Regions from separate parts of the Homo sapiens genome. Here all the other regions are linked to region 4. Evidence: promoter capture Hi-C in 16 types of primary human blood cells and fetal thymus (Javierre and others, 2016). All regions are on one chromosome and are shown on one strand. The core of a region is centred on a gene start or on the middle of the fragment in contact, and the rest is flanking DNA. Distances in the headings are between cores, read along the strand shown.

Region 1 (3,739 bases), core at 974-3,473, 800 kb before region 4:
ATGAGTTTCTATTAGCTGAAGAGCACAACTGGTTTGCAAGACTAGATGACCAATACCAGGTCAGATGAGGGCACTGATGAAAAAGAACACAGAACAGGTAAGTTTATTTATTTATTTATTTTTGGCGAGACCTGGGAGAAGCTGAATGAGAAAGGGTATACATGGCAGCCCAGATTTTACATCTCTGCATGGTGATCGAAGGTTAGAATGAAGGAACAGGAGATTCCAAGAGAGAAGTAGGCAATCACCAACAGGTTTTCTTTGACACTGTGCTGAGCTCTGGCCTGCAGAGAAGGTAGACCTCGACAGGGAGACAAGTGGCACTTGAGTGTGTTTAGCAGGGCTCATTAGAACTATGGAGATCTGGCAGCATCACTGTCACATTCTAATTATTTGCCATGGAGGTGGAAAAAGCATTGCGAAAGAGCAATTTGAACAATAACAAAAATGGAGGAATGCAGATGAACTGAGAGAAAGAGGGCTTTCCATATAAGCCACTGAGAGAACATACTTGAGGAAAAAAGATCTTTTAAGATAGTCACAGGGAGTACTGACAATGTGTTAAGCATTTTTACAAGTTTTTTTTCTCATAAATTCCTTAAGATAACCCTATGAAGTGGATCCTATTATTATCTCCATGTTACAGAGGGAAACACTGAGGCTTAAAGACGTTGAGTAAGTTTCCCAGGATCTCACAGCTAGCAAGTAGCAGAGCTAGGAGTGAAATCTAAGGAAAGGCAAGGCAGTTTAAATTAAATATTCAAAGAGGAAAGTCATATGAAACGGGGATTTTTTTTTAATCAAGTATGGCTCTGGAGGGCAGAACTAATGCGAAGTTAAGGAAAAAAGTAAATTTCACTACATTGTAAGCTTTCTGAATTTTAGAACTAACCCTGGGGGAAGAACTCCTTCATGAAATCATGAGCTGTGTGTACTAGAAACATTCAAGTGCAGCTAAAATGGCCACGTGTCAGAGAAGCTGTAGAGGGATTTCAGATTTGAGTGGGAATGTTAGACCAAGTGACCTTTAAATCCCTGTGGTTTAAAATTACCACGATGTGAGTTAGTTCCTCAACATCTGGATTACATGTATTTTCAGGCCTGAAAAATAAGAGCTCAATCTCAGTTAACTCTGATTTCCCTGGAAGCCAAAACAGAAAGGGAAACTATATTCTGAATTTGATAAAAAGGTAGAAAATTAGTTTATGAGGAATAGCAAACTTTTTCTTTGCTTTCATTTCAGAGGGCAATTGAATACAAAGGTCAGTGTTTATCTGTTAAGCTCCCTCATTAGAGGAAGTATGACATAGCAGGGGCTTTAAGGTGGTTTTAGAATATAAATATTGCCAACTTCATTTGCATTTATATCTCTGTGTCATTGAGCATCACCATCTTTAATTGCCATCCATGGTCTAGTTTTTGACACAGGTCTAGGAATCTAGGAATCTATGGGTCCCATAAAACATTTGTAATCTTTAAAAGCCATGCATTTATCACATATTTATCAATTAATCCAAATCTAATAAAAATAATTATTATTTTTCTTACCACTAAGTATAGTTTTAACAGCAAAGTGATAAAAAGAATTAAAAGCTCTTAACTCAGTTGAGATTTTGATCTCTTTAAAACCCACAGTGGCATAGTAGTCTCCGCAGGTGTAAGACCAAAAATACTTCTTGTCATATTATTACTTGTGAGCTGCTCTCAAAATAGCAGTTTTTTAAAAAATAAGAAACCACTTTCACCCTCTTATAAGAATTGTCTTATTCATACAGTACAGATGTTGGGAAATGAAGACCTATAAAATCAAGGATAGACTAACTTTACAAAACAAAGAAAAGAAAGAATCATATTCAATCCTGCTTGGTTAAGCAAAATACAATAGTGAACATATATCTTATGGGTTATATATCTAAGACCAGGAAGGTTACCTAGTTATTGTAGAAGTAAAGCAAATGGAATACAATGCACATATAAAGACCAGAAACATAATTATAATTCCATTTTTTGGCAATTGAATAGAAAATAAAAAATTTCTTTTTGATAAGATTCCCAAGGAATAGGAATGCTTATAATCAATCAACTTATTGGGAGCAAGACTTACTGATTTAGTTCAACTAGGTGAATTAAAAAGTTATTCTGCATAAAATCCTAAACTTGGTGCTGAAGAAATCATAAAATGAGACACAACCTTTACCTTAAAGAGTTTACCATCGGGCACATATCAGTCAAATGAGCCAGGAACTATAATAAAAGGCAATACATTATGCATATTGTAACTGAGGTATAAACAAAGTACAGTGGATTCAAAGGAGAAATTGCTCACTTCCTATTTGGGGTGGAGAAAAGATAAGGCTTCTTAGGAGAAATGACATTTGAAAAATGGGTGAAATATTTACAGGTTGAAAAAATGGAGGAAGGATGTACCAGGCAGATAGATGATTAAAGCTGTGATGACAGGCAAGTGTGAGTCCTGAGAAAGTTTGCCGGAAGAGTGGAGCAGATGTATGTGAGGAGGTGAGGCATAGGAGCTACTACTGGAGATGCAGGCTGAAGCCAGGTGTGGTGCATCTCCTCACAAGGCTAACGGGTCTGCATTTATTTTCACAGGTGATGAGGGGTCATTTAATGTATGGAGTTGAGGCATGACAGGATCACAGGGCTGCCTGGAGTCTTGTATGCAGATTGTGCACTGCAAAATCTTAGACAGTGTCATTCACCTGGTGACCCTGTTGATACCTATATTTCGTAGGACCGTATTTTAGTCATTATAAGTGTACTATATAATGAGAAGTTTCTTGACACACGGAAGTCAAGTGTCTTGAAGATGGGATGCCTTTCCTGATTTGTACAAATGCACCATGTGGGGCAATGGTAGCTTGTGACAGCTGTGCTCTGGGTAGACACGTCTTAAAACAGAACATAGAACTGATTGCTACAAGGACAGCCTGGAGACTTTGACAATAGTACACAGTAAAACAGGAGCTTCACTTGGAAGGGAGGCTGATAGAGAATCTAGGTGGGAGGCAATGAAAGAAGAACCCATACATGACTTCAGTGATGGGTGACAGATAATGGTGGCCAACAGGAAATAGAAAAGTGAGAAGGGAGATTTATTAAGGCAAGGGAAAGGGAGGCAGGGAGAGGGCAGAGGTGCACACACTTTGGAGCCAGCATTGTTGGCAGAACATCCAGGTGGATGTGTCAAGTGTGAGGCTGAAGTGCTGATCTGGAGGGCAGAGCAGGAGCTGGGCCAGAACCATCCACATAAATGTGTTTGCTGGGTCCCAGGGAATTAATGAGATAATGACAGAGCACAAGAGAGAGGCGAGCAGAGTGTAACTAGTATCAGAAGCAATCCTCGTTCTTATCATATTTTGCTCTCTCACCCCAAAAGAATTAGGAATAAATCTTGTAAAAGGAGCCTGCCTTCTTAGTAATGTGGTTGTTGGATAGCTTGTTTTATTTCCAGTTCCTGCCAACCATCCAATGCAGTCAGAAAGCCAGCTTTTATCCAAAAACATGCCATTTTTTTTCATTATAAGATTAGATAAGAGTGACAGCAGGAGAAGCTTTCTGACCAAAGGCAGAATCGTTGATGACCTGGTAATGTTTCAATGGTGAAATGGAAACACATAAATCAATTATGAATGCAATCAACTCCTCACTCAAGAAAGAAAGCAATGGCAAAAACTACCTAAAAGTATCCTTATTTGATCCTCTGATGCACTATATGTGA
Region 2 (3,914 bases), core at 477-2,976, 820 kb before region 4:
CATTCTACAGTGTTTATGTGTAGATCCTTGAATGACTGCTGTCCTCTTCCCTGAAGTTTACCCTTCAACTAAGAGCTATGAGTAATATAGAACATGTGGCTTCTGATAAGAAAAAACTTGTGTCCTTGATAGAAGCACGATAAACCTATCTAAACAGTTACAGAATATCACAAGAGTGTGCATTCATTTATGACCACTTACAAATATGAAGAACAGAGGTAACAAGAGCTCTCAGATCCAGAGAGAGAAATAAATGTAAACTGCACTGGCTGTGGAAGCTTCTAGAGATGTGGGACTCAGGTGCTGTTCTAATGGATGATTAAGACTAGGGTAGGAAGAAAGCAAGATCATTTCAAGAAGGAGGCATGCCATGAGCATTTGTGTGATGGTGGGAAAAAATACTCAATTTGGGTGAAGTAGAAGATTCATTCTGGGAAGAGTAGAGCTGCTGGTGAGGGTGACAGATGGTATAGGAACAGAAAAAACAGAGGAGTGCTTGAATTTACCTTCCATCCTGAATTTGCCTCTGAAAGTTTCTGAGGAGAGTGATGTGATGCAAATTGCACTTTAGGAAGATGAAGTGTCAGCGGTGTATAGATCCAGGAGAAAGGAAGAGTCGTATTAGGGAGAACACATACACTACAGAAAGTGGACAGCCGCTACAGTGTCCAGGTAACAAACTATAGCAGAAGACCAGTAAGGTGAACACAAAAAAATGACTGGGCTACCCTGACATGGCTATCTCTCGTTGAGGAAGACATGCTCCTGAATGGAAGGAATTAAAATATCTGGAGACTTAAACCTTGTGAATGGCCCTTCATTGTTCTCAGGACAAGGGCCCCCCAGGTCATCTAGGGCCACAGGTCCAAGCATCCTGGTGCTATGCCATTTTCTTCTTTCAGTTCCCTGAACTCATCACGCGCCTCCTGCTTCAGGCTCTCGCCTGAGTTGTTCTCTGTCTCCATCCCCTCTTCCTCCCCCTTTTCTCCCCTTACTTGTCTCTCTGTGTGCATCAGTTTCTTTACAATACACTCTCATAGAACCAGGAGCTTCTGCATCACAGCATTTATCCCTTTTCATTTATATTTCATACTTATGTAATTGCGTAACATCTGTCACTCCTTCTAGAATGTAAATTCTGTGGTAAAAGGGCTTATGTCCTCATATGCTCTCCATCATGTCTATTCTCATCACTGTGGGAGACAGAGAAGAATCAATTGCTTCTCTGTTGGGTCTCTGATGAGCCCACAGAGGGGAGAGGCGGTGACTAAGAAGCTGAGGATTTAGAATTAATGACTGTAGAAGAGATGGTTCTAATCATTTTAGTGTCCCTCCAAGTTGCCAGGGTGTAGCAACTTTACAGTTCATTGACATGACCTGCAGTATGGAGCCGTTTGCATTTTGGGCCTTGTAAGATGTAGCATTTTACAATCTGTTACAATTAAATGGCATGGAGCTATGATTGTTGGACGTGGAAATGAAGTAAAAGATTCAAGTCATTTTGAAGATATTTCCACAAATAATAAGGACCTTTACTGAAACGGCTCTGCAAAATCATTAGAAAGTTTTCGTCAAGATTTATTAACACTGCCTTTAGTAAAAGAGGTCCCTGTGGTGGCTGGGACAAATAGCTTGAAATGGTCTTTCAATTGCAAGAATACATTCAAGGCCTTCTGACACAATTTCTAGATTAGTCTTTGTTACAGAAAGTTTATGAATGGTTATTTGCCATGTGGCCAAGAAAACACAACAAGCATTTTGTGCAGTGATGACAGTATTTCCTGTGCTTAGCCTACTGTATGGATAACTCATGCTGATGCCTGGCATATGACTTAAATTCTTTTCTTGGCTTTTAGCTAGTAACCCCCTCTTAGTAAGCAATGAGTCAATCAATGATCTCATGCAGCTAATAGTGTGATTATATCGAGAAAGACACAGTAGCTATGGAAAGTGGCTCTATTTGCTTTTTATATTGTTCTTTTATGTTTAGAGTTATACTATATTGTATATTTGAAAAATGATCACAGCCATATTTCCAGGTCTACATGCTTTTCCAAAACACTGCTATGCCCTCTCGGGATTGAAGGCTTTTCTCTTATCCTTGAAATTGGGTGCATTTTGCAGCTGTTTCAACAAATTGAATATGGTGGAAGTGATACTGCCTAACTTACAAGGCTAAGTCAAAAATGTGTTATGAATGTATTGTACATTTCAAAATAGTTAGAAATGAGGACCTCAAATGTTCTCAGTGCATAGAAATGATAAATGCTTGTGGGATGGATATCCTAAATACCCTGACTTAATCATTACACATTTTATTTGTGTAACAAAATATTGCATGCACCCTATAAATATGTACAAATCTTATGTATCAATAAAAATAAAATAAATTTTAAAATGTGTTATGGCTTCCACATGGTTTATATCTCTCGGGATGCTCATGTTTGCAACCCAGCCGACATGCTGTGAGAAAGCCCAGCCACATGAGCCATCCAGGACTGTGTAGGATTATCAGCCCACAGACCCAGCTTGGGTCTCAGCCTGCTGCCAATGTCAACTTACATGTAAATGAGCCTTCAGTTGATTCAGTCCCAGCCTTTGAGCTATCCCAGATGATGCCAGACAGGGCATAGATGAATTATTCCCACCAGGTCCTGCTAAATTGCAGGTTTAGGAGCATGATAACTATTGTTATAAGGTATGAAATTTTGGGTCACTTGTAGGTAACTGGAGAAATAGCCTAAAACAGGGAGCAAAACATTCTATTTCAGCTTGCCCTTGTGCTTTTGTTCATGTTATTCCTAGGCCCTGAAATACCCTTTCTTTCCCTTCCTCTTTTTTTTTTTTTTTTCACTTGTCTAACTTTTCTGCTTATCCTTCATGAATCAACTCAGGTGTGAATCTCTGTAGGAAGTCTTCCATAACGCTTAGTTAAATGGCCATCCTATGTGTGTAAACCTCAATAATAGTCCCAGCCAAACGTGCTACCAAGATTCATTTACATGTTTGATGCCTACACCAGTTGATGCAGTCATCTTTGTATCGTTAATCTACGTACATTCACGGACTAACACAGTGCCTGGTTCCACCACCTACTACCTTCGTGAACTTCGTCAAGTTAATGAATGTCTCTAGGACTCCCTTTTCTTATCAGTGAAAGAAGATAAAAGCTTCAACTCATAATGTTTCTGTGAGGACTGAAGGTTAAAGTCATGGAAGTTGCTGGCATATACTAAATGCAACATAAATTAGCATAATCTCAAAATAGGAGGAAACAGCATTCCAGAAAGTAGATCTAAGAAAAAATATGTTGAGAACCATTATTCAGAGTTCTCAACACCTCCTTCCTGCTCCTCCACTGGGCAGCTTTGAACCCATTACATTTCTCCCATTGTATAATTTTCTTTGTACATTGCTCTCAAGGGGAGAGCAGGTACTGCTTAGAAAGGGGACGTTAGTTGGATTGATGAATGGGTTTTAAAACTTGTAGCAAAGGCAGAAGTCTTAAAAGCCAAGTGCTTAAGACAGATAACGTGTTTTAAAGTTCAAATGCTTGGCTTTGAATATCAGAATACAAAATCTTGAAGGTAGCACGGCGTGGAGATTATGCCCAAATCAACACAACATATGATGATGTAAGAGTTAGTGGGAGAAACCCAAATCCTGCCCAGTCCTCTCTGTCCTCCCCACTTGCCAAACAGAAAGGAATGGATGTGTTGTATCCTAGAGTATCCTACCTGTTGCATAGCCAGGGGAGACTAGAAGCCTGTTAGAATCCCTTGGTTATCATGGGGTTGGAATAGCAGACCAGCCACGGAATGATGAAGAGCCTGGACTAAAAGCCCCAAGGGCCTCCTCACAGAGCCCTTGTGTACCCCAAGGATGAAAAAAAGCATCCAAGGGGGGTGTAGAGT
Region 3 (3,931 bases), core at 62-2,561, 920 kb before region 4:
CTGGTCTCAAGCTCTTGACCTCAAGTGATCCGGCTGCCTCCGCCTCCCAAAGTGCTGGGATTACAGGCGTGAGCCATTGCACCCAGCTTAAAATAAATTTCAACATAAAAATAAAACTATACACACATTTCTGTGGGAAAAAGTGCACCATGATGCTATCATCTGCATACATTATCTATGATAAAAAATAACTTGCTTTTAATTCTCAAACTATGTAAATATGAGATCTGAATAATGAGTCATCTATCTGCTATTATTATCACAGTATATTTCCCAAGAAACCACCAGTTTGCTTGAATTATTATTTTGAATAATTTTTGATCACTCAAGTTTCTTAGTAGTCTTCTAGTTAAGTAGTACCTGCAAGGTGAGGCTTTTTAATGTGCCCCCAGAATTTTTCTTAAAAATTAGTAACATACATACACAGGCATTTATACTGATAAAGTATAGCTGTGCAAATTAGGGAGACTGAAGTTCCAGGCTAGAACTTTAGTTAACATTGAAGAGTAAGCATGGATCTTGTAAGATCCTTAAACACACCAATTGCCCTGAGTCCTTTAGCAAAATCCCAGACTCTTGTTATTTCTTCTCCCTGAGCTGGCTGGTAAGAAAAGAAATTGCAACTATACCCACTAATTGAAAGGAAAGTAGTTGTATTTGCCTATTTTATTTCTTCAGTGTTTTGGAATGCTGATCCAGCACTGGAGTAAAAATTAGAAAACAAAGCAATTTCTTCACTGATTGCCCAGTCAACAAGGCCCGGCCACACACTTTACAAGAGATGCTGGCTTATCTCCTGGGAACATTAATTAACCTTCCTATCACGGACTCCACACTAGGGGCGGCCCACTAAAAGTCCCAATTTTCCCCTTGTGGTTTAGACTGATACAAGCTTGTTCTCTCAGGTCATACTTTCTTTAAATTGCTGAAAGTATTAGCAAATTTATTTTACTTACGGTTATAATTTTTGCAAAGATGATGGAAAATACTGGATGAACAGTTCCATTTAGAACAGAAGCCAATGTCCCCAGAACCACAAAAGGCCATTCAGGCTTGTTTAACTTTAAAATTTTTAATAGAGAGACTTCAGGAAGACTTATCTAAAAATAAAATATGTTGGTTAAAAATGCCAGTTTGTGTGCATAACAGAATCTAGTGAAGTTAGCCCATCATAAACAGAATTATAATGTATAACATCAAACATAACAGACAGCAGGGTAGAAAATATTTTTCTTAAAAAATTCACTGCCCGTATTATTAACGATGACCCTAAAGCATAAAATAAAAGAAGATTTGCCACAAGTGACTATTTGTGCAATATCACTTTTTGGCATTTCACTCAGTTGCTATTATTTAAAAAGTACAGTTAACTCACATGTAATTGTTAAGGGTCACAAAAGAAATGGCAGGTGTATTTTTCTTTACTCTTGTTAAACTGGATGGAATATTGTACTACAGGATAAGAAAAAAATCTAGGCAGAAGCTAAGAAAAGAAAATGTGGAAGGTAAAAGTTTCATTACGATCTCAAACTTGAAAGTTGGAAAGTTTCAAGATGTATTTACAAAAACATTTTCCTAATACCTTGGCTTGTTTTGGAGTTCTTATTTACAAGCAAAATATTGCAATATCCGAGCACATTATTTAAACTCACCAAGACTGTCTCCTCATTTTTCCAAGGGGAGTGGTATCAGTTCCTATCTTGTAGGATTGTTTATACAATTAAGCTTTATTCAGTACATTTGCAACTCACTGTATTTGCAAACAATAAACACCCAATAAATGCTAGCAGTCATTGCTGTTTCTGATGTTATTACAGAGGAAGGATTATGTTACACAAAATTTCAGGTTTTATACAGAGAAAGCACAATGCAAGTAGTCATTCTGGGTCTGCCAGCCCTTCCTAGGAGACGTGGAAGGTGACAAGGGGAGGTAGTGGTCACAGTGGTCAGAGGATAAATAATACGATAACGATCTCTCTTGGCTCTTGTCTGCAATAAGTAGTGTATTTCAGAATCTTAAAAATTCTTCTGAACAGCTTTGTGGTGAGTAATTATTCTGAGTAGGAAAGTAGACAGTGAATTCTTTGGTATTTCATTCATTAAAACTTCCTCATGGCATTCACTCTTAAAATAATGACATTTATGGACCTAATAACCAGAGAATTCTTCAAGTAAGACTATAAAATAGTTTATAATTCTCGTTCTATTCTCAGTGTGGCCACTATAATGCGGACTGTTGTTTGGACAACAGAACTTTGAAATTCTGATGCCTTTAAAGTCCATTTTCAGGGTGGCTAACCCACATTTATATTGGATTACTTAATAATTTGATTGTATCCATCATTTTTCCTGCTGAAGTTTTCTAAAGCTCATCATCAAAAAGGGCACAACATTTCAGCTAGGTCACTGTTCAAAAGAATGTACAAAAATTTAAAAAGTTGCACGCTAACTATCAGGCACTGAGCATGAAACTAAGTGCATTACAAAATTACCTTATTTGGTAAGGAGATTAAGGTTTAACATGTGCCAGGACACCAGTAAATTACAGAGCCAGGAAATTAGGAGGGCTATCTTCCTCCTATAGAACGATCTACATTACATAGGTAATTTAAAGATGTTCTTTTGCCTCTGGGAAAATACACAATAAAAGATTTAAAATGGTATCATTTAAATAGTGTTGTCAAGATAGAAAAGAAGTAAATAAGATAAAAACAAAACAAAAATTTCAGTAAAATCATAAAATAGGCTGTGTTACTTAAATATGAGACAGGTTGTACATGCGTTAAAATAATCTCATACAAAAACATAAAATTATAGACATAAAGAGATATGACGAGTATTAAAAAGTTAAAAAGTGATATCTAAAATATTCTAAATTTCATTTGATACAGCTTAGAGCTTTCTTGAGTTATAGTTTTCATATAACAAAGTGCACATATTTGAAATGTAAAATTTGATAAATTTGAACACTGCTACAGACTCAGGAAAACATCAAAAAAGTCAAGATAATAAACATATCCATTACCCCTAGAAGTTTTCTCCTGCTTTTTTATCATCCCTCTCTCCACACTTCTTAGTTGCCAGTCCTCTTCCTTCCTTCCTCCTGCAACTACTGATATGCTTTCAGTCACTATAGATTAGTTTGCATTTTTAGAACATTATATAAATGAAATCATACATTATCTACTCCTTTTCAGATAGCTTGTTTTGCTCAACATACTTATTTTGCCATTTATCCATGCTGCGGCATAAATCAGCATATCATTTCCTTTTATTGCTGCATAGCATTTCACTGTATAGCTATCTCACAAATTATTATCCATCCACCTGTTGATATAAATTTGAGTGGTTCCCACTTTTAGACTATTACACATAAAACTGCTATGAACATTCATATACAAGGCTTTGTGTGGACATATACTTTCATTTCTCTTGAGCAAATATCTAGAAATGAAATGGCTGGATCATTTAGTAGGTGAATGTTTCACTTTTTAAGAAACTGACAAATTATTTTCCAAAGTAGCTTTAGCATTTTATACTCCCACCAGCTAAATAAGCTCCAGTTGCACCCCACCATCACCAATATTTGGTACTGTCAGTCTCTTTAGATTTAACCATTCTAACAGGTGTATAGTGATTTCTCATTGTGATTTTTTTTTTGCATTTCTGAAATGACTAACCACGTTGGGCATCTTTTTGTGTGCTTATTTCCAATGTGCTCATCTTGTTTAGCAAAATGCCTTTTCAAATCTTTTGCTGACATTTAATTGGGTTGTTTGTATTTTTATTATTGTGCTTTGGGAGTTCTTTATATTTTTTGGATACAAGTCCTGATCAGATATGTGATTTACAAACATTTTCCCCTAGTTTATGGTCTATCCTTTTCATTTTCTTTGAAGTGTTTTACAAATAATGAAGTTCTTGATTTTGG
Region 4 (4,013 bases), core at 827-3,326:
TACAGCGTTAGAAAAATCAAATTCAGAAATTGTGGAGCTACTGGTATTTGGATAGTGGTGTGCTTCATATGATTTTTTCTTGATTTATAGTTTTTACCCTATAATTATTTGTCTAGCAAATAATTTGGAGGGATAATTATAATAAGAATCATAAATAATTTGTCAGTTTGAACTCTTTTTTCTTGATTTCTGTATTTAGGAGGAAATTTTAGGTGTATTTGGATTTATCTTAGGAGGATCATTACATGATATTTAAAAGGCACAAAAAATATCCTTTGTGTCCCAATAAAGATAACGTAATTTTTTTTGAAAATTTTAACACTGATGCTCATGTTTTAAAACTCAAAACAGCAGTTTCCTCTATAGAAAATAATTGTTTTTATTTGTAAAAATATTTGTTTTATTGTGAATTATTGTTAGTTACTTATGTGAAGATGAGTTGAATTTCTTCCATATACAAAATCAAAAGTTTTGGATTTCTAACCAATGACCCAGAATCAATCAGGATTGGTTTTTATCAGGCATATGATAACCAATCTTATATTCCAAGCCATCACATTCAGAGATAAAATGTTAACCGCAATATATGTTTTGTTTGTTTCTTTTTCTCTGTGAAATTCAACTATTGTTAATACCATCCCTGTGTTCTCTACAAAAGTTTATTTCCCTTCCTATATGTCTCCATTAATCAATTCATTTAATATTACAACTTGTTGTCTTCCTAACAGAGAAGCATTTTTTTCCTAAAGAAAAGAAGTGACTAAACACAAAGCAAAACTTCAACAACATATATGCTGTATTATTTATGCATATAAATTGGATCATTTAGATGACTTCTGTATTATTTAAATTAAATAAACTTTACATCATTAAAGCCATACACTAATGAGGTACTTTAGCATGTCTTTGAGGATTTAAAAGCATAGAAATGAATCCACTAATTATCATTCAGTACCAATGTTTATTTGTACTCCAAATATCACAATAACTGAAGCTCTTTAAGGCCTAACAAATTGTAACTCTTCTTCCTTACATTTGTTTTATTTTTAAGAGAAAAGGATTCAAATTTTTAAATTATAGAATATAAACATATGAAAAAAATTATAGTGTAGAATTGAGTTTAAACTCTAAAAGAAGCCCTTAATCAAATTTAAGAAAACTGAAACTGGCATTTATGTTACAGAACTTATGCTATAGGTCACCGAGCTTTTATGTTCTCATCATGGGAGCTTTAAGAAGCCTCTAATAGAGGCGCCTGCACTGCACTGATGTATAGAAGTCAACATTCCCTAGTCTTGTGTTATTGTACCCTAACCTCATCTTCCTTTGTTCTATTTTCCTTCAGTCCATGTCGAACTGGAGAACCCAGTTTTTGAGAAAGATGACCCACACCCAAAACCCTCTCTTTATCCCACTTCCTAGATCTCCTTGATAGAATACCTTGAGATTTTTCATAAAACTAGAGTAATGAAAATGGGGTCTAAACACAGCGATCCCTAGACATCTAGAGTCTCATAGGCATCAAAAGACAATGCAAAAATATCCCAGGCCAAGCTGGACTGGCCCCTGCCCTAAAGATTCTGATGAAAGTAGACTGTCAAAAATAATTGTGCATTAAGCCAGACGTGTTTTTTTTTTAAATAATGCCTGTTCTAATGCATACACATCTCTTGAATTTTGTTGAGAATATATAATCCCAGCTCAGTTGGGTCTAGCTATGCCTCCCAGAACGTGTGGTCACGCTCCTAGGGGAAAGCAAGGGTCTGTGGCTGGAGAGGAACAAAATCACCGTGGAGGTGTGGCCCCCATCAACTGCTTCTTCGCCCTACGACACGGAAGGTGACAGGCTGTGATGGCCGGGAGTGGACATTCCTTGTAAGCAGGCTTGAATCTAGCTCTCCTAGACAGGGGAGTTCCTTGGTGAGGGGCCTTGAGAGTCCTAGTGACATTAGGAGTCTGGCTTTTTCCACCCCCCTGGGGTTTCCGTCTTTCTTTGCTCACTGCTCCCCCTACCCCGCGTACAAGCTAAAGAAAGTTTTTCTCAGAATGAGCCCGCGTTGACGTAGGCATCGCCTCCCCTCTCCGCTGGATAGAAGCCCAGAAAGGAGCCACGGGGAGAAGCGGAGGTAGGGGTCGCCTGGATTTCTGTTGCTGCGGTCCGGGGGCGGGGCGGATCAAAGGCCAGCCAAGAGTACTGGTCCTGGATCTACAAATACATTAGGCTTTTTCCTCCTCCGTCAACCTCCTAAACCCCAATGAGGTCATAGCAATGAAAGAGAATCAGCTCGAGAGAAAGGAGGAGGAAGAGGACGACGACGAGGGAGAAGAAACCCAGACGGAAAGAGGCCATCAGACAAGGTCGCTTTTTCTGGCGACAAAGCAACTGCAAGGAGCGTGGTGCTGAATATCATCCGCCCGCTCTGCCTGGGGACCCAGAGACTTGCAGAAGCACTTCGCATTGCCACGAAAACAAAGGAGAGGTGACGAACGGGAGAGGGAGAGAGAAACTCGGAGCGGTTCCCTTTGGATCTCCGGGAAGCAAAGCTCCTCTCCTCGGCAATAAAACAGAAGGGACCCTGTGAAAGGGTCTAGTAGGCTGAGGAGGGCGCGGGTTTCCCTGCGGAGATTTGGGACGCGGCAGAACTCTGGACAGCGCCTGGGGAGCAAGGCTCGGAGCTCCCTGGGCTCCTCCAGGTTTTCCGCTGCTTAAAAGCCCCGGTACCGGTGTGCAATCTTCGCACCACCGAACCCAGGAAGATCCTTCTACGATCCCTATCTGAACGTGCCAGGGGGTGGAGCAGCTCCTTTGCCTCTGGCCCAGCCAGGGAAGGTCTTCGTTTCTGGAAATCCAGCCCTTGTGGATAATGCCTCGCTCTTGAAGAAAGAAAAGTTTTGGGATCTGGTAGGGGGTGGAAGGGGTAAGGAGGATAGTGGAAGAAAAAAAGGTAGATGGTTGATTTCCCTCTCTGATCTGGAAGGAAGATGACCGAGGAAGGATGTGCACCAGCGGTCAGATTATTGGGAGCCTCTTGGTGCTCTCCGTGCTGGAGATAGGGCTGGGGGTGTCCAGCGTGGCCGTGGGGGCGGTCAGCTTCAGCCTGGCCCTCCGAGAGCACAAGCCGCAGCTCGGAGACTCGTCCCCGGTATGGAGCGGGGTGTGTGTACGTTGAGCCATTTCACTCTCTCTTTACCTCTTTACGGTGATGGTCAGGGTGCGCGCATTAGTCACTCCCTCCCTGGGAAACAAAATCATAGATCTCTGGCTTGCATGTAGGTTCATGCTGACAAGCTATGCTTCTTTATATTGTCCTTTATTCGTTTTCTGTTTTGTTTTGTTTTGTTTTGTTTTGTTTCTTACTTGGGCTTAAGACCAAATTAAATGGCTTTGTTTAAAGGTGGGGGTGGGGGGTTAGTTTCCACTGGCTGATTCTACAAAAGGCTGCTTTGCCCAGTGGTGCTGTTTGGGAGGCGGGGGGAGGGGGGTGTCACACCTGTCAAGGGCAGGCTCACTTAATCTTTTGTTCCTTCTACAAGGAAAATCAAAATAAGAGTATTCCATCATTTTTTTGTATCAGGGAACAAGCAGGGATAGTTATGCATTTATCCCTGGGCAATAATGCCCAAGGTACACCAGAGGCAACACCAATAACAAAAACAGAAACGTGGTGTGAGTGTGAAAGGAAGTTTGTGGGTGCATTTCATTCCAGAAAACATTGCTGTTAATTTTCCTTTGCTACATTTCTGATATTTCACCTCTGAAAACGCTTTTGTAAGTTCTAGACAGTAAGTTAGAAAAACATCAGATGGTAAGACGTGTAATAACATTCTAAATGGAGAATAATTCTGCTTACAGAGTACCTAACTGCTCAGAGAAACTGTCATAGTTATCTCTAGGTCAGATGTCAGACTCAACAAGCTTCTTTTTTACTAGGATGAATCTCCAAGAAAGCCTTAGAGACCCATTTCTTCCACCAAGATTCAATAAAATAACTCAGCACCATTCCTAATGTGAA
Region 5 (3,703 bases), core at 852-3,351, 850 kb before region 4:
ATTTTGGCTATTCCTAGTAACGCTGTTAGGAATATGAGTGTACAAATATCTCTTCAACTCACTGGTTTTAATTCTTTTGAGTATATACCCGGAAGTAGAATTGCTGGGTTACATGTTAAACCTATTATTGATTTTTTGAGGAACATTCACACTGCACCATAGCAACTGCACCATTTTACATTCCTGCCAGAACAAGGATTCCAGTTTCTCTATATCCTCACCAACACTTGTTCATTCCTTTTTCTTTTCTTAGTATTAGCCATCATAATGAGTATGAAGTGGTGGATTGCAATTTTTAACCTTTAGTAACAAAATCTGAGCTTTAAATGAAATGAGTTCTATTAGGTACACATTAAGCAAGTGTACTCTTAATTTTGTCTCCCTTTTTGAAAATTTCATTTCTTAGCTTTGTATGCTCACATTTCAAGGAGGTCCAAATGAAAGCTGTACATTGTATCCACTGATTTCACAGCAATCTGTCAGTTACACACACACACACATGCACGCGCAAAATTCTGAAACATTAAGAGAAGACTGTAGGGAACAGTTTAAGTTTTCTATACAGACACAACAGGAAGACAAACATCCGGCTCCTCTCCTGCTTTATAACGCATTGTTCTGTCAGCTTTGATAAATGACAATTCACTTAATTTTATTCCACATGAGGTTAATAATTTACTTGAGTTCCGGTCAATTTGCTCTGGGCTGAGGCATGAGATGACAAAAGAATGCTTTACCATTGCAAAACCCTACAATCCCTTTCCTCACCTCTAGATGCGGATTTTGAAGCTTAACACCCAGTAAACCCTCTTCTCTTGATAAAAGTTGTTTCAGGGAAATAATTTCTAACTCCGATTGACCTTCATGGAAAGGTTTCGAAGGAGGGCTTGGGTCGTTTTGTGAAAGTCTCTTTATCAGCGTTGACATAAGAAAGCAACATGTGGGCAGGTGGGCGGGTTTGGGGGTCTCCTCCCTCTACACAGCTCTTGGGGCCAAGTGTCCTTTGGCAAAGGCCAAGGGCGGAGCCTGAGGCGCCCAGAGGAAACTGATTCCATTGTGCGGGTCACAGCCGCACTAGCTCCTAGTCCTAGCGTGCCCGTTGCTGGTTTTCAAGCTGGAGGGGATCTTAGCGATGTTGGTGGCCCAGTACTTTCATTAGCGCAAATCAGCATGGCCCAGAGCAGCGAAGATTCTGCTCTTAGCTCCAGTTGTGTCACCTCCACCTAATAGGAATCCTTCCTGTATTTCATGGCCAGACCCCACACCTATATCTCACTAATTTCACTTTTCAGGGCCCATCCAACCCCTACCTTCAATTCCTGTTGCTATTTTCTTTCATATTGTTTTCTCCTATTCTCTCCAGTCATGGAAACTAGAAAAATCAACCACCTCCCCATTCTAATTTTCTGTGCGATAGCATATAGATGCAGTTTGCTGTTGGTATTGCTACTGACCTGTTAGTTTTTTTGGTTCACCAATGAGGTCTGTAGTGTATTATTATCATGACCACTTTAAAGATGAAGAAACAGTCACAGGGTAAAACAACCCAAGTTTATGTAGCTAGTGATTGAACTTCAGTCTGACGCCAGAACCCAAACTCTTAACTGTACAGTTACAATGCTTCCTGTGGAATATATGCCGAACACATGATTTAGTCAGTCCACAGGTAATGCTTAAGAGCACAAATGTATTCTAAAATAAACCTGTCCCCTCAGCATCCCCTTACACCAGGATGCTGGGGCATCTTTAGATAATGTTTTGAATTTATGAGGAAAAGGTGCTTAGAAAGGAGAACATTTACTTTGGGAAAATAACAACAAAAACATTAAAGGAGAAGTTTGGAATGCAGTTCTTTTGATTTTCAAAATGTTCCTAAATGGAATTTGCTTTAGCCTAAGGAAGTTTCTGATTCTGACTCACAAGAAAATGGTATCGCTGGAATGCCCTCTCTGGCTATTTTCTGAATTAATAAACTACATGACCTGGAGGGATCTTCTCCAGTTTTATAGATTGTATGTCCAAATATAACACAATTATTATGGTAAAAGTGGAAATAAAATAGATGTAAAACTATTTCCATTTAAAAACTCTCAATTAATGAATTCCACGTGTAGAAACTTGTATAACATACATATTCACAGAGACATCTATTCAGAGAGAAAATAATCGGAATCGAATATTTTCTTTTATTAAAGGTACCACATGGAATGAAGGGTCCACAGAGAATTGAAATTAAAATTTGCAGGTGCCTTTCTTCTGTATAATGGTGGACAAGAAATTAACGATGAGAAATTCAGAAGAGGAGATATCTGAAGCACTAAATCAATAAATCCTGGATAAATAAATCCTATTACAATTAATCCTATTGCAGTTCCTAAAATCACTATTAAATTAATTATAAGACTGCTTATGTTCAAGTTCAGCAAAATGCAAATAGTGTTGCTATTTTTGGGAAAAAATTATAAACATTTTTGCTATAGGTGTGGAAAGGATGAGTTATATTTGAAGTTGTGGAAGCATACTTACAGAACTTAGTGAGAGCTTACCCATTTCTCTGATAATTTTCTTGCATTTCTTCAGCTCTTTCTGAATTTTCCATCTTATTTACAATTTACTTCTTCTGAAATACAATTTTAACAAATGTATTATGGCTATGTGACTTTTATCACTTAGTTGATATACAGCATTCTTTACATCCCACATCTCTCACAGTTTGAAAAAGGAAGCATCTCAGAATTTCGCCCTGCCCAGCCCCCCACTCCAATTGAAGTTTCTGGCTAGGCAGTTCATAGATTCAAATTTTGTCATTGAATTTATAACTTCCTTGCTTCATTCTAGGCTTAGATTTGGAGCTAATGAAAGTGTTAGAATTGGAATAAAAGAAGGAAAGTCAGATTCCACGGAAAATGCACTGTTTGTCAGGATATTAGATATTCCTACTTTGCCATTCATTTGACTGGAATTGGTGAAAATTTTTAATCTATCTCATGCTGTTTTCTCTTTAAAAAACTGATGCAGTAGTTTTTATTAGCCAGCAGTTTGAGGGAATAGGGTTTTCTAGTTTACGAAACAAACAAAGTTTGGAGCTTTCACAAACTGGATTAACAGTTACAAAAAATTAGAATATTTTGAAAATCCATTCATCATTAAAATTGTATTAAGCATAATTTACTCTTCCTTGGGATGATACTTGAGGATCTTACCTTGTCTTAAGATCACAGTTATGTTCATAAATTATAAATTATCATTTTATTATGGATCTATAGAGATGGTTGTGACTCAGTCTCAGTTGTTAGGCCCTATAACATATTACCCTATATAAAGACAATTATAAAGATATGGCTTTAAACTTTAAAGTGGAATTACAAATTAATTAAAGAGTACCTAAGCATCTGAAAAAGCTAATAAGCTTTCAAATAGTAAACTTCTCATTGAAAGTGGATCAGAACTGCTTTTAGCACCAAGGAGGAAGGCATAATACAAATACAGCCATCTGTTGGCTTATTCTTCCTTTTACAGAAGTAAATGGTCATACTTCATATGGGAGATATTTACAACTGCTAAACTGACTTTACACCATCTCCAGTAATCTGACATGTATGTAAGAAAAATAAAATGATTGACAAATCTCAAACATTTGCATTTTATAGAAATTAACAATTATGTAATGAAATGCATCCATCCATAGAAAGAAATCAAAACA
Region 6 (3,886 bases), core at 1,387-3,886, 870 kb before region 4:
TAAAAACAAATTTAGATCTTGTTATGTTTGTTTCATGTACATGTGTAGTAATAGCCTGAATAATTTCAGAAAATAGTAGTAAAAGAATCTATCATTATCTCTCTATGTAAAGAGAACTAAATTAAGAGTACTTCAGAATATTAACTAGTAAACTGTTCACATTTTCAACTAAAATATTTTATATGAATTTTGACTATCAAGTTAATGAAAGTCTTAATTTGTAACAAGTAAATGAGATCTTGCCAGATATTTTCACAAGCTATTTAATGAAGCTCCTCCTTAGGACATACTAACATAATTGCAAAGCATATTCTAAAGGAAAACAGCTGGCAAAGTTTCTTAGTGGCTCCCGATAGATGAGAGTTTATCATTAGAAACCTTGGTGGGCTCATGGTGACCCATGAGGGAACACTTTAAACATTTTCTCAATGACTGGGGTTGCTACAGCATTTAGTGTGCCAGGGACCTGCAATGTGATTGAAGCCTCACAATAATTACCCTCTCGAAATGACAACAGTGATCCTGTTGAGAAATTCTCACCTATCTTTGCTTGCATCTGTATGTAGTTAGCCCTAAACAGGGGAATCTCCCTTTGAATTCTCTTGCTTTGATCTCACCATTTGTAAAGCAATGGACCCTTTGCATAAGCCAAACATAAAACCTTCAGAGGGCCAAGCCGAGAAAAGTTCTCTGAAGGAGGTGAGAAATCGGGGACCACCAGTAGGAGTACCTCTTCTCACACCTGCACTTTTACTCTAGATTTGGTTTCTGGTCATTCCTTGAAAGAATTTATTTATTTAAAATAGGTGGACCCCCCCAAAATTTCATTCTTTAGTTTAACAAAAAGGGTTATGTTTCAAAAGTTCATTTTAAAAATAGTTGTTTAAAACCCAAAGAACACTTTCCCATGCAATATAATGGCACAATTGGTGCTGAAGTCCCTAGGAAGCCAATCCAAATACAGTTGCAAAATGTAGTTTGAAATACTGTACAGTTAAGAAAAATGGTGGAAGTCAATACTATACCAATAATGGTAATCGGTAATTAAGTAACAACTTTCAAAACTAAAGAGCTTTGAAAAGAGAATTTCGATCAAAGTTTTAATCAGAAAAAAAATAAGGAAGTAGGAGTAGGTAGGTCTTTATACAAATTCTGTAGCAGACATTAGAAATTGATCACACTAGTAATTTTATCTATTTCACTTAAAATCATGTCTTTTTCTATGAAGCCAGTGTTTTATTAGTAATCGCCTTGTGCAATCTTTAACAACAACTACTTTTTTGGTAAATACACTAATGAAGTGAAAGGGGGAAGACAATAAAAAAGACACACATTTTCACAAGAACTTGTCAAAGACTGAATGATGGAGTACGATAAACTGCGTGTGTGTGTGCGTGTGTGTAAAGGCGATAAAGTACTAGCCGCAATTGCTGCTGCAGTAAAAGCCCCAGGAAAGGAAGAAGGGAAAGGCACATGTGCATAATTCTCCTAGGTTAGAGAGGAGGGGGTTAAAATGAGTATGTTGAGTGGGGTAGCATCTAGGAACCACCAACAGGTGGCAGCGTCAACCCAAGACATTTAGGTGTGTTCCCAAACCCAGAGTAGAAGAATTTCACGGAGCTGAAAATGCTTTAGTCAGTTGAATATAGAAAGAATGCTGCAAAATATAACTAGTTGATCCAGAGTTATTTGTCCATTATTTATCTACCTCCTCAAGTCTCTAAGCAAAGTAGCCAAAATCTTGGAAAAAAGTGATCCTAAGTAATCATGTCAGAGAAGATCTTGGCCAGTAGAAGATAATATCAGAAAACTGCACAATTGCGTAATTTGTTTTAACCTACCTTGATAGATGGTCTTGATGGATAATTGAAAGAAACATTTTTAAATTCCACAGTTCCTTCTATGGATTCAGGTTTATATCCAGCTGTGGAAAAGTTATCTATACTGGGTTTCTTGGAAAAACAAAGGAAATGTTATAAATCTTCAAAGGAGTAAACTGACAGTCTCTACATTTTAAAAATAGTATAAGGATGGTTTTCTTCCATGACAGTTTCCTTTCTGCTTTAGAAGTGCATTGAGTTAGACATGAAGGTTTCAATACAACACAATCTCCTCTTAGAAAAGAATTAAAGGCAGTCTCTCTTTCCCATAAACAACTGGCCAACATTAAATTTGTCCATCCTATTGTTTTAGTGAAAATGAGGGTGTATGTTTTTTTGTCTCCTTCTTGCAGTAATGATAGTTATTCTTCAAAGCAATAAGAGGTCTTACCTTATCAATAACCTGGAAAATATGAAAGGCAGCTCCTCGGGCTATTGCGAAGGTTTCAAAGTGAGGGACTGCTGCTCCAATGCAATAACTGCTATGGATTACACTAAAGAAAACCTACAGGAACAAACAAAGTGATATTTATCTTTCTGCAGTTATATAAGAAAGACAATAGAATGTAATATATAATTATTGGTTTAGGCTCACAGAGAGATATTAGAGGAATTAGGTAAGAAAGAATGGAAGATATGACCAAATAAAAAAGAACACAGATTACACTTGATCTTAGCCAAAAGGCCGAGAAGCAATAGAAACACAGATTAATCCAAGTATCCTTGGCCTTTTCCTAATAAGGAACAACTTTTGATTATCTCATAGTCTTGTGGTTATCACATGCTGGGATGTGTGACCAGAAAAATCTGCTAACTGAAGTGTGCTGACCATGTATAAACCCCATGGTGAGTTGCACTCCCCTCCTTGTTGGGTGACCCCTTGAACTTTAAAAAGAAAAATTCAGTAGATTTTATTGGCTCAGAGACATTGTACTGTTTTCACTCAAACCGTTTTTGAATTTTTGTATTAGGGGACAGCTGTCCATTTTAAGACAGACTCATCTCTGCAAAAAGTCAAATAAGAAAAGAATCCCTCAAGCTAGGAGCTCTTACTCCTATCATATAGATGAGGATGCTTAGGCTTAGTAAGCCAGATACCCAGCCACACATAAATTGAGGAGCAAGGATGAGTGAAAAATCGTTCATGCTCACATTTCACTTTATATGAAATAAATGAATAGCTAAAAGTCTTAATTATGAATGCCTCAAATTCAAAAGATGAATTTAATGGAAAGAAGAGAAATCTGTAAGAATGGAAAGGCCAAACAAGGATCAAAGTATAAAGAGCAGATCATTTTGGTTCCTCAAGACAAATGTTTCTTAATCCTGAACTGATCTGTTTATTGTAACTTAAGAGGATAACTGAATAAATTATTATTTAACACATAACCCATAAGAATTTAAAAGTCTCCAAACTGTGATACTGGACAGAGCTATATGTAGTCTGTTTTTTAAATTACTACATGCTGAAAGGACAGAGGAAGAGGAGGTGAGTGTAAACTCTACAGACCATTTCCAGAGAGAAGACATTTAGCAAGGTGAATGCAGAACTCCGTCTGATCTCAGCCCAGATGAAAGGAAAAGTCTCACAAGAGAATGGCCTTTTTCACTGCTAGATTAACAAAACTCAGTGTATTTCCCAGTGGGGAATTCAATTATGATTCTTCCAAAAGCGGAATGCAGATGCTTGACACAGCGAGGACACTAAAACATGCTGGATGAATAAATGCTGTCAATTCATAACTATAATTTAAAGGTGTATACAGATAATTTGAGGGAAACAAATATTTGTTTAATAAAAACATCCATCTTTGAATATTTATCTTCAAAGAGGAATTTTGGCTAAACTAGGTAAGGAAAGATTATCCAGGCCTGACACCTTGTTCTCAAACAAGACTTACAGCAAGAACAGTCCCGATGGTATATCCAGGTTCTCCATTAAGAATCAAGGAGGTTCCATACCAAAAAGCAAGTCCATAGGTTCCATTCATAAAGAAGTACACAGC
Region 7 (3,623 bases), core at 88-2,587, 900 kb before region 4:
TAAACTTGATGAAGCAGGTGATAATTTCTTTCAAACTTTTTTCCAAATCTATAAGAGAAGGGAACCTCCCAAAGCATTGGCTATTAAGATTAAATGATAATGTGGAAAAGATGTATGATATAATGCTACCTGTAAAAATGCAGGAAAAATATGTATCCTATTATAATTATGTTTTAAAAAAATTTCCCATAAAAAAGACACCTATGTAGAAATATATCAATATACTAATAGTACCTGTTCTTACTTATTGGATCTATGGATTATATTTTTCTCATCTCAGTTTTCCCAATTTTATTTAATGTGCATGTATTGCACTTTGGTTTAAAAGTAAGAAAGATTTAGAAGGGCATGACTCTTGGCTTAATGCTCTGCTGCTGTCATTCTGGAGTTCTTAATAGTTTTTGAAGAAGAGGCTCTACATTTTCATTTTGTGCTGGACCCCACAAACTATGTAGCTGGTCTTGATCATTGACAGAGGTAAAAAGGATTCAATGTGAGTCTACTTCAGCTGGTTTTTCCCACATAACAGATATTAAGGGAGTCATTTAAACAGCGGGACTAGGTAGAAAGAGGGGCAAAGGGTACTTTTATAAACTAAATTAATTAATTAATTATTGAGACAGAGTCTCGCTCTGTCACACAGGCTGGAGTGCAGTGGTGTGATCTCAGCTCACTGCAACCTCCACCTCCCGGGTTCAAGCGATTCTCCTGCCTCAGCCTCCCGAGTAGCTGGAATTACAGGCGTGCACCACCACACCCGGTTAATTTTTGTATTTTTAGTAGAGACAGGGTTTTGCCATGTTGGCCAAGCTGTTCTTGAACTCCTGACCTCAGGTGATCCACCTGCCTCTGCCTGCCAAAGTGCTGGATTACTGGCAAAGGGCAGTATTTTTTGATGGTTAAACATTTATCCAAGTCAGGACAGATGTCAGGACTTTGATAACTGATTTTTAGTCTGATACTAAAAATCAGACTATAATTATTATTCAGCTTCTAAATCTGTATCCTTAATCCCCATTTCCTGTCACAAAAAGTAGGTAGAATGGACAGTTATGCTCCCCTCTAGCAGCCCTACCTGTGCTTCGGAGCTCTTTTCTAAAAGTATATACTGAGATAATATGACTGGGATCAAATTTCCCTTTATATTTTTAATTTAAAAGCAAATTATCACACTGCATGAATAGCTGAACAAGTTTTATGAACAACAGACTAAGAAGACTAATGATATAGGAGTGAAGTCCACACTGTCTCAATAAAAACTCGTAATACAGTTAATCTGACAAATATCATGATGGATGTAACTATAATAATTAATACATTACAAGGTAATTAACTACAAAACAGCAAGCAGTATATATAGATTATAGTGTATGACTTTTATAATGACAAATCTAGTATTCAATAATTTCATCATTTGTGTTTTCTGGAGTTGCAAGTCCTGGGTTTGGATCTTGTTTCTGCCAATTTCTGTCTTGGAGGACTTAGACAAGTTTTTTAACCCCCTAAGTCTTATATTCTTCATTTGATAATAGGGAAAATTACACTACCTCTATTTTAGAGTTATTGTGCAGATTGATTTTTTGTGGTAAGAACACTTCACATGAGATCTATCCTCTTAAAATTTTAAGTGTACAATACAATACAATATTGCCAACTATAGGCACAATGTTGTAGTGTTAATGTCTAGAACTTATTCGTCTTACATAAATGAAATTTTATTCCCACTGAACAGCAATTCCCTGTTTCTCTCCCTGCTCATTCCCTAGCAGCCACCATCCTATTGTCTGCATCTACAAGTCTGACTGTTTTAGACACCTCATTTAAGAGAAATCATGCAGTATTTGTCCTTCTGCGACTGGCTTATTTCACTTAGCATAATGTCATTCAGATTCATCCATGTTGTTCCATATGGACTTCCTCCTTTTTAAAGGCTTATTAATATTTCCTTGTGTAGGTATCATATTTTTCTTTATCTGTTAATCTGCCAATAAATATTTAAGTTGTTTCCATATCTTGGCTATTAGAAATAATGATGCAATGAGCATGGGAGTGTATATACCTCTTCGAGATACTGACTTCAGTTCTTTTGAATATATATTAATATATCCAGATTATTGGAATTAATGTGCGTATTCTTATACATATGTGTGTGTGTGTGTGTGTGTGTGTGTGTGTGTATGTGTAGTAGAATTGCTGGGTCACATGGTAATTCTATTTTTAATTATTTCTGGAACCTCCATACTGTTTTCCATAGAGACTGCAACTTTTTACTTTCCATCAGTCATATACAAGGGTTCCAATTTTTCCACATCCTCACCAACACTTATTTATTTATTTATTTTTTAACAATAGTCATCCTAATAGGTGTGAGATATCTCATTGTGGTATTGACTTACATTTCCCTGATAACTAGTGATGTCAAGAATCTTTTCACGTACTTGTTGGCCATTTGTATGTCTTTTTTGGAGAAATGTCTTTTCAACTTCCTGGCCTATTTTTAAATCAGGTTATTTATTCTTTATTTTTGTTTTTTACTATTGAGTTATAGGAGTTCCTTATATATTTTAGATATTAATCTCTTACCAGATATATGGTTTCCAATTTTTTTTTCCTTTTTGTAGGCTACCTTTTCATTCTGTTGATTATTTCCCTTGTGGTGCAGAGGCTTTTTGTTTGATGTAGTCCTACCTATTTAATTTTGCTTTTGTTGTTTGTGTTTTTGGCATCATATCCGAGAAATAATTGTCAAACTTAATGTCATGAAGCTTTCCCACTACGTTTACTTCTAAGAGTTTTACAGTTTCATTTTAAGTTTTACAGTTTCTTATACTGATGTCTTTAACCTATTTTGAGTTGATTTTTGTGTATGGTGCAGATAAAAGTCCAGTTTTCATTCTTTTGCATGTGGACATCCAATTTTCCCAATATCATTTGTTGAATAAACCATCCTTTCCCCATTGTGTACTCTTTGCACCCTTGTCAAAGGTCAGTTGATTATATATGCATACATTTATTTCTGGGCTTTCTATTCTGTCCCATTGGCCTCCATGTTTATTTTTAGGCAAGTACTATACTGTTTTAATTACTATAACTTTGTAATGTATTTTGAAATCAGGAAGTGTGATGCCTTCAGCTTTGTTTTTCTTCTCAAGATTGATTTGGATATTTGATATCTTTTGTGGTTTCTTATTAATTTTAGGGTGAGTTCTTTATTTCTGTAAAATATGCCATTGGGATTTTGATCAAGGTTATACTAAATCTGTAGATTGCTTTGGGTAGTATTGACATTTAACAATATCAAGTCTTCCAGTTCAGGATCACGGGATGTATTTTATTTGTGTCTTCTCTAATTTTTTCATCAATGGTTATAGTTTTCAGTGTACAAGTATTTCAGCTTCTTAAGTTTATTTCTAAGTATTTTATTCTTTTGATACTGTTGCAAATGGGATGTTTTAGTTATTTTTTCAGAAGATTTGTTGTGAACAGAAATGCAACTAATTTTTTTATGTTGATTTTATATCCTGCAACCTTACTGAATTCATTTATTAGTTCTAACAGTTTGTGTGTGTGTGTGTGTGTGTGTGTGTGTGTGTGTAGTCTTTAGAGTTTTCAAATTTTAAGAT

The links. Contacts are between HindIII fragments. The CHiCAGO score rates a contact against its expected background, and 5 or more counts as called.
Region 1: a fragment that was not itself captured here is called in contact with the fragment with the promoter of TMEM196 in region 4 in 4 of 17 cell types (M2 macrophages, naive B cells, total B cells and 1 more); the score reaches 9.9 in M2 macrophages.
Region 2: a contact is called between a fragment that was not itself captured here and the fragment with the promoter of TMEM196 in region 4, in 11 of 17 cell types (naive B cells, total B cells, monocytes and 8 more). The highest score is 13.5, in naive B cells.
Region 3: a contact is called between a fragment that was not itself captured here and the fragment with the promoter of TMEM196 in region 4, in 4 of 17 cell types (M0 macrophages, monocytes, M1 macrophages and 1 more). The highest score is 7.2, in M0 macrophages.
Region 5: a contact is called between a fragment that was not itself captured here and the fragment with the promoter of TMEM196 in region 4, in 9 of 17 cell types (M1 macrophages, M0 macrophages, M2 macrophages and 6 more). The highest score is 17.9, in M1 macrophages.
Region 6: a fragment that was not itself captured here is called in contact with the fragment with the promoter of TMEM196 in region 4 in 4 of 17 cell types (M2 macrophages, M0 macrophages, M1 macrophages and 1 more); the score reaches 10.0 in M2 macrophages.
Region 7: a contact is called between a fragment that was not itself captured here and the fragment with the promoter of TMEM196 in region 4, in 4 of 17 cell types (M0 macrophages, M1 macrophages, M2 macrophages and 1 more). The highest score is 12.1, in M0 macrophages.

Annotation. Positions count from the first base shown.
Region 1 is chr7:20,575,139-20,578,877 of GRCh38, reverse strand. No RefSeq gene overlaps it. Among named protein-coding and RNA genes, the nearest start is that of ABCB5, 39 kb to the left of the region's middle. The HindIII fragment of the contact is 2,702 bases long and covers 873-3,574 here.
Region 2 is chr7:20,594,779-20,598,692 of GRCh38, reverse strand. No RefSeq gene overlaps it. Among named protein-coding and RNA genes, the nearest start is that of ABCB5, 19 kb to the left of the region's middle. The HindIII fragment of the contact is 2,892 bases long and covers 281-3,172 here.
Region 3 is chr7:20,695,576-20,699,506 of GRCh38, reverse strand. It overlaps ABCB5 (ATP binding cassette subfamily B member 5), which reads right to left. Exons shown (of 28, transcript NM_001163941.2): 17 at 957-1,100. Among named protein-coding and RNA genes, the nearest start is that of ABCB5, 82 kb to the right of the region's middle. The HindIII fragment of the contact is 833 bases long and covers 895-1,727 here.
Region 4 is chr7:19,771,680-19,775,692 of GRCh38, reverse strand. It overlaps TMEM196 (transmembrane protein 196), which reads left to right and starts at 2,076. Exons shown (of 5, transcript NM_001363562.2): 1 at 2,076-3,143. The coding sequence starts at 2,997. All of the region lies in intron 1 of LOC107986774 (a long non-coding RNA gene), which reads right to left. The HindIII fragment of the contact is 8,082 bases long and covers 1-3,918 here.
Region 5 is chr7:20,622,182-20,625,884 of GRCh38, reverse strand. It overlaps ABCB5 (ATP binding cassette subfamily B member 5), which reads right to left. Exons shown (of 28, transcript NM_001163941.2): 2 at 2,547-2,620. The coding sequence starts at 2,599. Among named protein-coding and RNA genes, the nearest start is that of ABCB5, 8.4 kb to the right of the region's middle. The HindIII fragment of the contact is 2,620 bases long and covers 792-3,411 here.
Region 6 is chr7:20,646,034-20,649,919 of GRCh38, reverse strand. It overlaps ABCB5 (ATP binding cassette subfamily B member 5), which reads right to left. Exons shown (of 28, transcript NM_001163941.2): 9 at 3,782-3,886; 10 at 2,272-2,385; 11 at 1,842-1,952. Among named protein-coding and RNA genes, the nearest start is that of ABCB5, 32 kb to the right of the region's middle. The HindIII fragment of the contact is 8,939 bases long and covers 1-3,886 here.
Region 7 is chr7:20,674,722-20,678,344 of GRCh38, reverse strand. All of the region lies in intron 14 of ABCB5 (ATP binding cassette subfamily B member 5), which reads right to left. Among named protein-coding and RNA genes, the nearest start is that of ABCB5, 61 kb to the right of the region's middle. The HindIII fragment of the contact is 2,861 bases long and covers 1-2,767 here.